2 separate regions of the Homo sapiens genome follow, and region 1 is linked to region 2. Evidence: promoter capture Hi-C in 16 types of primary human blood cells and fetal thymus (Javierre and others, 2016). All regions are on one chromosome and are shown on one strand. The core of a region is centred on a gene start or on the middle of the fragment in contact, and the rest is flanking DNA. Distances in the headings are between cores, read along the strand shown. Region 1 holds the start of BSDC1 (BSD domain containing 1). Region 2 holds the start of PEF1 (penta-EF-hand domain containing 1).

What was found. Contacts are between HindIII fragments. The CHiCAGO score rates a contact against its expected background, and 5 or more counts as called.
Region 1: a contact is called between a fragment that was not itself captured here and the fragment with the promoter of PEF1 in region 2, in 4 of 17 cell types (fetal thymus, naive CD4 T cells, activated CD4 T cells and 1 more). The highest score is 8.5, in fetal thymus.

What each region holds. Positions count from the first base shown.
Region 1 is chr1:32,389,976-32,396,614 of GRCh38, reverse strand. It overlaps BSDC1 (BSD domain containing 1), which reads left to right and starts at 2,174. Exons shown (of 11, transcript NM_018045.8): 1 at 2,174-2,211; 2 at 2,475-2,535. The coding sequence starts at 2,201. RefSeq lists enhancers at 346-1,041, 1,789-1,868, 1,740-2,435, 2,159-2,448, 2,436-3,133. The HindIII fragment of the contact is 1,550 bases long and covers 1,949-3,498 here.
Region 2 is chr1:31,641,959-31,648,831 of GRCh38, reverse strand. It overlaps PEF1 (penta-EF-hand domain containing 1), which reads left to right and starts at 3,956. Exons shown (of 5, transcript NM_012392.4): 1 at 3,956-3,991. The coding sequence starts at 3,968. It overlaps PEF1-AS1 (PEF1 and COL16A1 antisense RNA 1), which reads right to left and starts at 4,696. Exons shown (of 6, transcript NR_184313.1): 1 at 4,536-4,696; 2 at 3,986-4,120. RefSeq lists enhancers at 3,487-3,826, 4,067-4,136, 3,456-4,226. The HindIII fragment of the contact is 8,144 bases long and covers 1-6,873 here.

The sequences.
Region 1 (6,639 bases), core at 1,474-3,973, 750 kb before region 2:
TAAAACTCTTTCTTTTGTAAATTGCCCAGTCTCAGGTATGTCTTTATTAGCAGTGTGAAAATGGACTAATATGGCGACAGAGTAAGATCCTGTCTTAAAAATAAAATAAAATGGGCCAGGAGCAGTGGCTCACGCCTGTACTCCCAGCACTTTCAGAGGCCGAGGTGGGTGGATCACCTGAGGCCAGGAGTTCAAGACCAGCCCGGCCAACATGGTGAAACCCCATCTCTACTAAAAATACAAAATTAGCTGGGTGTGGTGGTGGGTGCCTGTAATCCCAGCTATTCTGGACGCTGAGGCAGGAGAGTCATTTGAACCCAGGAGGCAGAGGTTGCAGTGAGCCAAGATCATGCCACTGCACTCCAGCCTGGGCAATAGAGTGAGACTCCATCTTAAAAAATAATAATAAATAAAATCATGAGACTTTATGAGAATATCTGGGGAATGACTATAAACATCAAAAAGGAGGAGGACACCAAGGGCTGAGCCTTCTCCCAGGGAATATCCCATTCCAGCAACAAGAAGGCGGTGAGAAAACAGCAAAGAATACTGAGATGCCAATGAACGGGGAAGAAAGTCAAGAGGGCATGATGTCCTGGAAGCCAAATGAAGAAAGTGGTCAACTGTGTCAAATAAGATGCGGATGTAAAACAAGAACTGAAAAGTGGCCATTCCTCTTGGCGACCTTAAGAAAGTTATGTCAGGCTGGGTGCAGTGGTTCATGCCTGTAATCCCAGCACTTTGGGAGGCTGAGGAGGGCAGATCACCTGAAGTCAGGAGTTCGAGACAAGCCTGGCCAACATAGTGAAACCCCATCTCTACTAAACATACAAAAATTAGTCGGGCATGGTGGTGCACAACTGTAATCCCAGATACTCGGGAGGCTGAGGCAGGAGAATCGCTTGAACCCGGGAGGCAGAGGTTGCAGCGAGCTGAGATTGCACCACTACACTCCAGCCCGGGCAACAGAGCAAGACTCTGACTCAAAATAAATAAATAAATAAAATAGATGTTTCCGTCTTCCACAGGGAGGACCAAAAATAAATAAATAAATAAAATAGATGTGTCCGTCTTCCACAGGGAGGACGTGGGATGGTGGCGGAGCTGGCTGCAGCAGAGCTACAAATAAATATAAAATAAATAAAATTAAATAAAATTAAATAAATAAAAGAAAGTTATTTCAAAGGATTGTCTGAGAGGCAAAAACCTAACTGCAGTGAGTTCAAGAGAGAATGGGAGGAGAGGGGAGTTGCAGACTGTGAGTAGGCAACGCTTTTGCTGTAAAGGGGAGTAGGGAAACGGTGAGGGATATAGAGAGGGCTGGTTTTTGTTTGCCTTTGAGATGGGAGAAACAGCAGTACGGATGATGACAAGGATAAATGCAGTCATCAGAGGGAAAAGAGATGAAGGGGGGATTACTAGATCTATGTCCTTAAGCAAACAAGAGGCGATGGGATCTACCGCACACGTGGAGGGGCTGACCTTAATTAAAGTCCAAAGTATGTGGGCTGTGGAATCTCCCTTCCAATCGCAGTAGAACTCAATCCAGGCGGTCTCCGGATTTCTCCAGACCACCTCCACCTGGCGTTGTTCTGAGCTGGGCCACCGAAAGTTGAGATTACTGAATGTGTGTGTCTCCCATTAACCCGTAAGCCCTCCAAAGGCTGCATCTAAGTCGCCTCTGAATTATTCACATTCCTCCAAACTCTGGGCCACAGCCCCGCAATATGGGCTTATTGAATTAGCCCAAAGAGACACAAAGCAGCCTCTACGCAGCTGGTTTCACAAAGGGGGGCGGTCCTAACCCTGCGCTCTGGGATCCTGACGTTCGAGCTATCTCTCCTCCTCCCCTCTGCTCCCAGCTCTCCGCAGTCCAGCTTGTCGGCTGATCATCGTCCATAGAGGCCACCGTACCCGACGTTTGCGGACAGTGACAAAGAGTCAAGCTTGGTGGAGCCTGAGGACAGGACTGAATGACGATTGAACTGAGAGTTCAGGGGCGGAGTTTGAGGGCGAACTCGGGACAGAGACTGGATAGAGTTCAGGGAGGCGGGACCTAATGATGGCGCAGGGAGGGGATTGGGCTGAGGGCGGTGCCGGCGCGAGGATTGGGCCGAGCGCCTCGGGGGCGGTCCTTGAGGGGGCGGTGCCGTGTCGGAAGTCAAAGGTCAGTAAATAGTGGTGATGTCATGCAGGCAAGATGGCGGAAGGGTGAGCTTGTCGTTTTGCTCCTAGGCGTTGGGGCCTGAATTCTCCCAGGGTTGGGGTGCTGGGCGAGAGTCCCGGTGGGGAACGTGAGATCAGCGGGGGCGTGGACTGATCTGAAAGGGCAGAGTGGAGTCGCATTGTGAGGGGGTGGGCAAGCGGTCTGCGAAGCCTCGGCCCGCAGGGTACATCTGAGCGGGGAACAAACCGGATCCTTGGGCGGGCAGGAATCGCACCGCGGTGCTGCCAGATGTGTCTGTCTTCCACAGGGAGGACGTGGGATGGTGGCGGAGCTGGCTGCAGCAGAGCTACCAAGCAGTCAAAGAGAAGGTAAGCCGGGCCCGTGCCCTTCTTCCCTCAGCAGGGCCCTGCGCCGCCTCAATGCAACCTGGTCCAACCAGCCCCGCCCAACTTTTGCGGGCGCTAAGTCTCAAGGATGAGGCTGACCTGGGCCTTTCTTTTAGCCTCTACCGGTCCACGGGAAGACAGACCTCGACGCAAACCAGTGTGATACTAGCCACAGTGAAATAAAGATGGTTTTAAAGGCTGGAGTTAACGAACGTTTTGTAGGAATCCATAGGAAGGAGCAATTTATTCCAGCTCAGGAAATTCAGTTTCTTCGTGAAAGAGAGAGCATTTGATACAGGTCTTGAAGGAAAAGATTCTAGCAGTAAAAAAACTTACTCGTATAGTCATTCAAATATTAGAGTATATGCGACAACCAGCACTCTGATAGGTCTTGAGGATACAGACTTCAGCCAAACAGATGTAATCCTGGGCCTTACAAAGCTCACAGTCTAGTGGAGAGACAGCCATTAACCGAGTAGCCAAACAAATAGTTGTTTAGTTACCGTTGTGGTAAGTTCTGTGAAAGGAAAGTACAGGGGCACCTTGTCTGTTCTGGTTAGTCAGTAACTCACCAGGGAAGGCCCCTGTGGAGAAGGAACCTCATCAAGGGCAACCCTGCCTAGACAGGATGAAAAGCAAGAACCCAAGCCAGAGATGAGCATGAGCCATACACACTGGTGCCTGATGAGTTCTAAGTAGGGGCTATGCAACGGGCAGTAGAGAGAGAGAGATTAATCACCAGAGAGTGGAAGGCCTTCTTGCTGAACAATCTCTGTGGGATGAGTGATATTTGGCTGTGCCAGTGGGTAATTTGCCAATGTGTATTCCTGTTTCATTTCATGCTTATTTGTCAAAATCAGCCCAACTGAATTGTGGGAAAAGTTGATTACTATTTACCTCAAGCAATTGGGATGAGTCCTGCTTCAGGGCCAACTCCAGGAAGCTTCTGACCTCACCTAAATAAGTCCTCTACTCTGGGAGTATTTTTGTTTTGTTTTGAGACAGAGTCTCACTCTGTCACCTAGGCTGGAGTGCACAGGTGCGGTCTCAGCTCGCTGCAACCTCTGCCTCCCAGATTGAAGTGATTCTTGTGCCTCAGCCTCCCGAGTAGCTGGGATTACAGGCATGTGCCACTACTCCTGGCTAATTTTTGTATTTTTAGTAGAGACAGGGTTTCACCATGTTGGCCAGACTGGTCTCGAACTCCTCACCTCAGGTGAGCCACCTGCCTCAGCTTCCCAAAGTGCTGGGATTATAGGCGTGAGCCACCACACCCAGACATCTGGGAGCGTTTTTATTCCTCCCTTATCCTGGGTACTCCTGGACAGCCTCTCAGCAATAGCCCAGCAAATCTGAGAATGCCCTGAGCTGTTTATGTTGTTGATGAGGACTGAGAGGCTTGCACCCTAACATTTGATAGAAGAGACCCGATAGTAGCATATTTCCTGTTGGGTAATTTCCTGGCAGGAAAGTCTGACATTCATTCAGCAGATGTTGCATGAGGGCCTCCTGTGTTTGTCTCAAGGTTGGTCTTATCATAACTTATGAAAAATAGATAGTTGGCCAACCTTCCGTCTTCATTCTTGGAATTCCCAGTTAAAAGCTGGGGTGGGGGTGGAGGTGGGAGTTGTTTATGCCTTTTTGGAAAGAAAAGACGTAATTTCCCTTTTTTTACTTTCTTACTCTTATATGTACTTGGGCAAGTGTTTTTTGTTTTTTGTTTGTTTGTTTTTGAGACCAAGTCTGGCTCTGTTACCAGGCTGGAGTGCAGTGGCTCAGTCTCAGCTCTGCAACTTCCGCCTCCTGAGTTCAAGTGATTCTCCTGCCTCGGCCTCCTGAGTAGCTGGGATTACAGGCATGTGCCACCACGCCCAGCTAATTTTTCTATTTTCAATAGAGACAGGGTTTCACCATGTTGGCCAGGCTGGTCTCAAACTCCTGACCTCAGGTGATCCGCCTGCCTCGGCCTCCCAAAGTGCTAGGATTACAGGTGTGAGCCACCACGCCTGGCCTCTTGGGCAAGTTTTTAACCTCTCTAGGCCTCAGTTCCTCATCTATAAAATGGGAATACTAACAATACCTACTTGATGAGATTGTGGTGATGGTTAAATGTTAATATATGTAAAACACTAAGAACAGTACCTAGCATACAGTAAGTGCTATATAAGCATTAGCTGTTATTAAGTGCTGAGGCTGATGGGAAAACCTCTTAGATACCACCCCCAGTTCGTTTTTCCTTCCATTTTTTTTCTTGGTCTTTTGGTGCTTTCCTATCTGTATGTCCCATTCTGGCTCCATCTGGACCACTCACTTCTCAGCACTCCTTAGAACACATTGCCCTGAAGACCACAGCTATGAGATGGTGCTATCATCTGCTTTCCTCTGCTCCTTACCTCCTCCTGTCCTGTCTTCCTGTGTGTTGTCAAGGGCAATATGACTGACACAAATACGTGTGCATACACGTTGATAGAGAAAGGCATATCATTGCTCTACATACTTACCAGAAAGAAGAAATTAAAAAGAGAAAGGCACCAAATGCTTTTTGGTTCCATCACAGATTCCCCAACCTCATCTGGGCCCACATACTCTTCAGTCTCCAATTTGCTTCTCCTCCCCTTAACTTCAGAAACTTTCCCAAAACCTAACTCTTCCCTGGGGTCCCCTATTCAGCCGCTTTATCCCTTTCACTTCCAGGAGACAACCTCATCTACTTTTTGAAACTTCAGGTGAACAAACAGGATCTTTAACTCTCTCCCCACCCTCAAAGCCACCACCTATAAACTTATCTTTACTCAGTCAGCTTTACCTACTGCTTGCCAAATCCAGTGGGTGGTTTTCAGCCCTTATCTTCCTGGACCATTCTGCTGCATTTGACGCTAGTGATCACTCCCTCTCTTGAAACGCTACTCTCTTGGCATTTGTGACATGATTCTTAAGTCTCCACATACTTCTCCAGACGTTGCTTTTGTAACTGTCTCATGAGTTCCTCTTCCTCTGCTTGCCCCCTACAGGTAGTGTCTGAGGACACTTGTCCTCAGCCCATTGCTCTGTCCACTTTCCAAACTCTTCCTGGGTCACCTTCTCCACTTTCCTGTTAGGGCGACTCTTAGACCTTTTGCCTGAACTTTAGTGTTGTGTTTTGCTTTGTTTTGAGATGGGCTCTCACTTTGTCACCCAAGCTGAAGTGCAGTGATGCAAACATGGTTCTCTGCAACCTCCACTTCCTGGATTCAAGCAATCCTCCCACCTCAGGCCCCCAAGTAGCTGGGACTATAGGCGTGTACCATCACGCCCAACTAATTTTTGTATTTTTTGTAGAGATGAGATCTCGCCATGTTGCCCAGGCTGGTCTCAAACCCCTAGGCTCAAGCAGTCTGCCCACCTTGGTCTCCCAAAGTGCTGGGACTACAGGCATGAGCCACCATGCCCGGCCAGCTTTAGTGTTTGAGGATAGCTATTGCTGGACAGCTATCCTAGACAGCCCACAGTCATCTCAAGTTCTGCGTGCCCAAAGTCATTGTTACCACCTTGTCTCTAGGACTGCTCCTCCTCCAGGATTTTCTCACTTAGCTGGCAGTACTGCATCTACGCAGTCACCTATTTTAGCAGCCTGTGGTGCTTCCATGATTCTTTTCTAGCCCTCAGTCAACATACCTGTTCAGTCACCAAATCCACCTTCTTCCATCTCCTGTATCTTGAACCAGTCTCATCCTCTCCATCTTTACTAGCATTGTCCTTACTCACATTTTTCTATTTTCTTTCCTGGATTATTGCAGCAGCCTCCTGACTGGTCTTCCTTCTTCCTCTTCTAATCTTCTCGCCTCTGGACCTTTCCTCCATTCCAGTCACTGGAGTAATTTAGTGAAAAGGCAAATCTCATGTCCCACCCACTTCAAACCTTTGGTGGCTCCCCATCATCCATAGGGCTGACCAGGCTCTCCCTGGTTGCCCTTGGCAACCTCTCCAGCTTTATCCCTCACCACTCTTGCTTCACATTTTATGTCCATCAGGACTGTAATGCTTGTAGACGTCACTAAACCCATGTCAACACTTCTTAGCTGACTCCTGTTCTTTTTTTTTTTTTTT
Region 2 (6,873 bases), core at 2,707-5,206:
AGTGCTCTGTGTTCTAAAAAAAGTCTGGAATCCATGCTTTCCCCTTGGGCTACAAGTGAAACAATAACAGGAACTTCTCCACCCACCTCTGTCTGCCTCAGGTAGATGAGGTTTTGGAAGTGAGTTGATTGTTTTTCAGTCTTAGGAAGATCCTGATCTCTCTTTTATCCAGCCCCCTCCAAAACAAACATACCTGGGCCTGTGTGGGTCCTCAGAGGCACAGCCCTGGCTGTTGGCTTTGGCACGTTCCTGACTCCCTAAGAGAAGATGTGGATGCTCCATCCACGAAATAGCACAGACCTCCCACAGATAGTTCTCCTAAGCCCTTTGCTGGGCATAGGGGAATGGGGGCAAATAATTCTCATAGGAGTTGGATTCTCATCACCTAGAACAGAGCCTGGCAAGAGGTGGGAACCCAATGGGATCATATGTTTGTGGAATAAATGAGTGTGTGTCACATGACTCCAGTTTGCAGGCCAGCTTGTCACTGTTCTCTCTCCAGGCAAATACCCACTTGACCTTCAACCTTCTTCCCTTCTGAAGTTTTGCAGCTCAATTCCACCAATATTTTTTGAACTGGGGGGTTAGGAAGGTAAAGAAGACACAATCTACTAACTATTAAATACTGAGTAGTTAAAAAAAATGCAGACCTGGGATCAAGTCCTACTTCTCCATTTATCTTTTTTTTTTTTTTTTTTTTTCCCCAGACAGAGTCTCTCTGTTGCCCAGGCTGGAGTGCAGTGGTGCAAACACAGCTCATTGCAGCCTTGACCTCCTGGGCTCAAGCAATCCTCCCACCTTGGCCTCTGGAGTGGCTGGGACTCCAGACACATGCCACCATGCCTGGCTAATTTTTTAAAACTATTTTTTGTAGCGATAGGGTCTCACTATGTTGTCCAGGCTGGTTTCGAACTCCTAGGCTTAAGCGGTCCTCCTCCCTGCCTCCCAAAGTGTTGGGATTATAGGCGCGAGTCACTGCGCCTGGGCTCCATTTATCTTTTTGATAACAGGAAGGTCACTTAACCTCTCTGAGCCTCAGCTCCTCATTATAAATGGGTAATAGTCTCTATCTCAAAAGACTGTGGTGAAAATTAAACAACACATAGTACTTAGCACAACGTCTGGCACCTAGTAAGCACTCAATACATGATAATAATAACTACTAACATTGAATTCATGCTAGGCACTATTCTAGGTGCTGAGGTTAGAGGACTACATAAGAAAATGACAATTCTACAATATACATGTAAACAAAGTGGACAATTCAACTAGTGACATGTATTATGAAAAAATAAGATAGATGATGGGAATGCTTGGGGGGCAGTGTCAAGAAACTCCCCCCACCCCAGGTGATATCTGAACTGAGACCTGGATGATAAGGAGAAGCCAACCAGTGAAAAGTCAAGGGAAGACTATCCCAGACAGAGGGAAAAGCTAGTCCAAAGACCTGGAGGCAGGAATGAGCAGGCAGTCAGAGACCAGCCAAAGCCAACATCCAGGAATGAGCTCTGTACATTCCAGGAATGGCACAACCAGGCCGGCATGGCTGGAATGAGGCAAGGGGGACAGCAACAGCAAGAAATGAGGCTGGAGATGCTGGTATGTGTGGCCATGAATGTCATTAGGATGAGTTTAGCTTTTATTATAAGAGTGATGGGAAGTCCCCAGGGAGTTGAAGCCAAGGAATAAGATAACCACTCTGGCTGCCTGTGGAGAAAATGAAGCGTGGGGAGAAGAGTGAGAGCAGGAACATTGGTCAGTCGGCTATTGTAGTGATCCAGGCACGGATGATAGTGTCTTGGACTACAGTGATAGTGCGAACAGGGAGAAAAGAGCAGATGTGTACATGTTTGAATTAGAGCAAATGGAGATGAGGGAGGTGAGGGAGTGTGTGGAGAAAAAAAGGACACACAGGAATGATCTTAGGTTTTTGGCCTGAGAGACTGGGTGGATTTTCTGAGATGGAGAGGAATGGGTTTTGGGGAAAACACCAAAAGAAAACTCTTATACAAGGCAGGCTGGAATACCACACAGTGACAGTACCAAGTGCAAAGGGGGAGTGGCAAGAGAGAGTGGCTAACTCTGGAGCTAAGGGGAATGTGGGAGGGTTAGGTGGAGAATGGAATTGGAACTGAGCCTTGCAGGACTGGAGTTGGGAGGGCTGCTGGTCCAGGTGAAAGGAGTGGTTTGAACCTAAGTTTGGGGCATGAGCAGGTATAATAAGCTCATTTTCAAATTTACACATTTGTTCCTGTCAGCTAAGAAAAGTGAAATTTAGAGAGGTTAAATAACTTGCCTAAATAAAATGTGGTAGATATACACTGTGGAATACTATGCAGCCATAAAAAAGGAACAAGATCATGTCCTTTGCAGGGACGTGGATGGAATTGGAAGCCATTATCCTCAGCAAACTAACAGAGAAACAGAAAACCAAACACCGCATGTTACCACTTATAAGTGGGAGCTGAATGAGGAGAGCACATACACCACTGGGGTCTGTCGGAGCGTAGAGGGAGGTGGGAAGAGGGAGAGCATCAGGAAGAATAGCTAATGGATGCTGGGCTTAACACTTGGGTGATGGGATGATGTGTGCGACAAACCACCATGGCACACATTTACCTATGTAACAAACCACATCCTGCTCATATACCCCTGATCTTAAAAGTTGGAAATTAAAAACAAACAAACAAAAAACCTGCCTAAGGTGATACAGTTAGAAAGTGATAAAACAAAGATCCTCCCTCCAAAGCAGAAGTGCTGAATGGTGGAACTGAGCACAGAAATACAGAGTAGCAGAAGGGGCCGTAAGATTGGAAAGTTGAGGCTGGGCCAGATTCTGAAGGGCCTGGAGTACCAGAATGAAGAGATTGGGCCTTATTTTGTAGGCGTGGATGAAGAGCATCCATTGTAGGCTGTGTAGTGGGCAAGTGGCATGATCAGCACTGTGATTTTGGAAAGTGCACTTGGTTAGATAGATGGACTAGACTGGATAACAGTTCGTAACATTCATTTATTCATTTATTTTAATAATCGTGTCAGTCGCTATACTAGGTACTGGAGTTATAATGACAAGCAAAAACAGACAAAACCCTAGCCCACATGAAAGAACTTGACAAAGAAATCAAATAAGCACACAAATAAGTGTAGAAACGGAACCACTGAGTGGCAAGTACATGGTGCTGAGATCACTCGGTCACCAGGATTTGACCTACGATGGGGACCGACCTAGACCTCCCTGCTGAGAACTGGACATCCATTGACCCCGGTTCTAGGCGACCCACTGTGAGCTAGGGCAAGGCAACTGCCTCTCTGCACCTCAGTTTCCCCATTTATGAAGAAAGAGGCACTAGATAATTCAATTTTCCTCCAACTCTAATGATCTGGGGTTTTTTTCTCCAAAGACCACAGATCTGTATCCCACTACAAGGGTACTAACTGGTACCCAGTACCTTGACATTAGAGGAGTAATTCCGCCATCGCCTCTCCCTACCGGGAAGAGTCGGTCGGTTCCCCGTTGTCAGGGCAACCGCCTGGCCACCGCCCCTCGTCTCCTTTCCCGCGGCTCATCTGCGGAAACTCAGGAGCTACTCCAGCAATTACGTCACTATCATGCGTCCCATTTGCCAGGTTATAACATGGCTACCGCAGCAACACCCCACCCAGGCTTCTCACTAAATTTCCCAACCTGACCACCTCTTCGGCCCACTCCACCTCAGGAAAAGGAGGAACATTAGCGCTGGTACAGCCGCCAAGACTTCCGGAAGCTCCATCAATCACTTAGCTCCCCTGGTCTCTCGGGTAGGCATCCGCCCACCGCCCCCATCGTCACTTCCGTCGGCCGACAGCACCCAAGATTGACAGGCGCGGACGTCCAATCAGATGCGGGCCCAGCCCCAAAGCCGAGACGAGGGGCGGGTTTGAGAGCGGAAAGCCCCACCCCTTGCCTGAGTGTGACGTCAGAATCACCATGGCCAGCTATCCTTACCGGCAGGTGAGTGTGTGAGGGGCCCGCGAATCCAGGTAGCGGCGGTGCCAGGCGCAGGCCCGACGTCCCCCTGCTCTTTCTCCCCGCTTTCTCCGCGCCCTTCCCACGATGGGTTCGCTTCAGCGAGGCCTTGCGCTGTAGAGAACCGAAAAGGGACCGTCGGTCGCGCCCTGCTCACGTCATGAAGGACCGCACATTCGCGAGGTCGTGTCGCGCCCCCTTGACGTCGCTCACTCGAGGATTTGGGGACCTTGGACCCCACAGGTCCAGGCTGGCGCTGGCCTGGGCTCCACAGCCTCCCAAGGCCCTCATGGGGGCCTTGGGCGGGGGCATCAGCCATGACCGGAGGTTTAGAGTTCTGGTTCCGCCGATCTCATTTGGGGCGTCGGATAAAAATCCAGGCTTCCGGACCCACCCCACACTGCATCAGAGTCATCAGGAAACTCTGGTTGTAGCAGGCGCCACAAGTGAGCTGGTTTGACCACTGACTTAGTTCAACACCGCCATTTCGCGTGTAGAAAAGTGAACCCCGAGAAGACACAGAACTTACCTGAAGTCACCAGGCAGTTAGGCAGCAGGGCCGAGGTCAGAACCCGGGCTATCTTCAGATGCCTCTTCCCCAGCGTATCTTGATTCAGTCAGGAATACCGCAGCAAGGTGATTCTGTGGCCAGAATTCTTTGTTGGGTGATAGTAGGGTGTTGAAGTGCACTTTGGTGTCAGAGGTAGGTTCATATCTTAGCTCTACCACCTAAATAGTTGTGAGCCCTTGAGCAAGCTGTTTTGCCTTTCTGAGTCCAAGTTTCCGCCTGTAAAATAGGGCCGAATAATAGGATCTGCCTCATAAAGCTGTTGTGGAGAGTCAGGAGGTGATGCTTACGAAGCGTTTGGTACATAGTGAGGTGTAACATGTGTTGCCCTTTAGCATTTTGATTTTTAGTAGACTTCTAAAAGGCCAGTGCCCGGAGGGTCCTCAAAATAGAGCCCTCATTTTACAGAGGAGGAAATGAAGCCCACAGAGGGCTGCGATCACACAGTTATTTAGGAGATGAAATCCATAAACGAAATGTGGGAAAACAAGATCAATTGGTATATTACACAGTGCTCAACTGAGTTTAGTCACAGGCCAAAAGATGTAACAGTCCTTCCAGGGAGTGCAGTCTTGTGCGGGTTACACAGTGTTTGGACCTCCATTATCCTAATCATGAAGTCCCTATCGGCATGCAGGTATTATTACCCCTAATTAACTGCTGAGGAGCAAACCCAAAGAGGTTAAGTGGCTTCCCAAAAGTCACACGTAGTAAGTGAGGGTGAGGCCATGACCAGAGCTTAGGACTTCTCTTATTGCATCCTTAGAGAGAGGTAGGAAAGAGAGAGGCCAGTGCGGGCTGGAGTTAGGAAGTGTAGCATAGCAGTTGCTTCCTAAAGTCCATTCCATTTGCTGAGTCTTGGGAGGTTTTAATAGATATTGTTAATATAGGAGGATTCTGTAGTTAACTAAAGTTTTGGAAATACTCTTAAGTATAGCTGAATAAGTTTATTGACCACAAGCTATTTCAGAATCCTTAATTTGCTAATGTACATTGTAAATCATCCAGAAAGGAATATAATATGCAGTATTTCTTAAACATATCTAACCATAGAAACTCCGCCTCCCGGCTTTCTTTTCAGATGTCTGGTCACTTTTTTGACTCTAGTATTTCTGAGGAACACAGGCTGAAAAAACATTCATAGCGCCTTGTTTCCCAGTGGCTGGTCTTCTGCCTCAGAATCAGCTGAGAGCTTGTTTAAGAAAGCACACTTTTGGGTCCCACTTCAGACCTGTTCTGTACCCAGGAATCTACATGCTAATAAGCATTAGGGACAATTGGTGTGCATCCTAAAAGCAGTGACAGGTTAGAGAGAACTGTGCTAGAATTCTAGCTGTATTACTTAATAGTTATATACCCCTGGACAAACTAAGGGCTCTGAGCCTCAGCTTCCTCACCTGTATAAAGGGAGAAATAATACCTGTGAAAAGGGCTAAAATGAGGTTAAAATGCAGGGAGCCTGGCGTGTTGCTAGTGCCTAGTACATGCCAGTGTCTGGTGGCAGCTCTTGCTGCCGTGACTGCTCTCATGATGCCATGCTGCCTGGGCTATTCCTGGAGTGAAATACTGAAAAGGAGCACAGAGAGAAGAGTCTGGAATAGAAAAAGAAATGTTGTTTTTTTTTCCTACCATACCCTTGTCCGCCTCCTGGTCTCAGGTGTTCTAAGAAAGGAAACGAGTTGTTTTAAAGCATCTCAGTCAGTGCTGCCTCCCCTCCACCCACTACATAGCTTTGGAGGATTCCAGCCTATTGTTAGGAGTCAGAATTCCTGTAATTTTCCACTGCTTCCAGTCCAGGGTACCCAAGCAGGGACTGGGTATTGGAGTAGTAAAATTCAAGCACCCTTTGGTCCTATGGGGGAACGAGCTTGGTGGATTTCAGTGCTTAAGAGCTTAGTTTTTGAGGCCAGAGAGAGTTGATTTCAAATCCCTGCTTTGTCACTCCCTTGCAGAAGTTTGTTGCAAAAGTCTGAGACTCAGTTTTCCCTTTTTTGAAAAAAATTTTTTATTTATTTGTTTATTTTTAAGACAGAGTCTTGCTCTGTCGCCCAGGCTGGAGTGCAATGGCACAATCTTGGCTCACTGCAACCTCCGTCTCCCGGGTTCAAGCAGTTCTCCTGCCTCAGCCTCCCAAGTAGCTGGAATTACAGGCGCACGCCACCACACCTGGCTAATTTTTTGTATTTTTAGTAGAGACGGGGTTTCGCCATGTTGGCCAGGCTGGTCTCAAACTCCTAACCTCAGGTGATCCACCTGCCTCAGCCTCCCACAGTGTTGGGATTACAGGCGTGAGCCACCA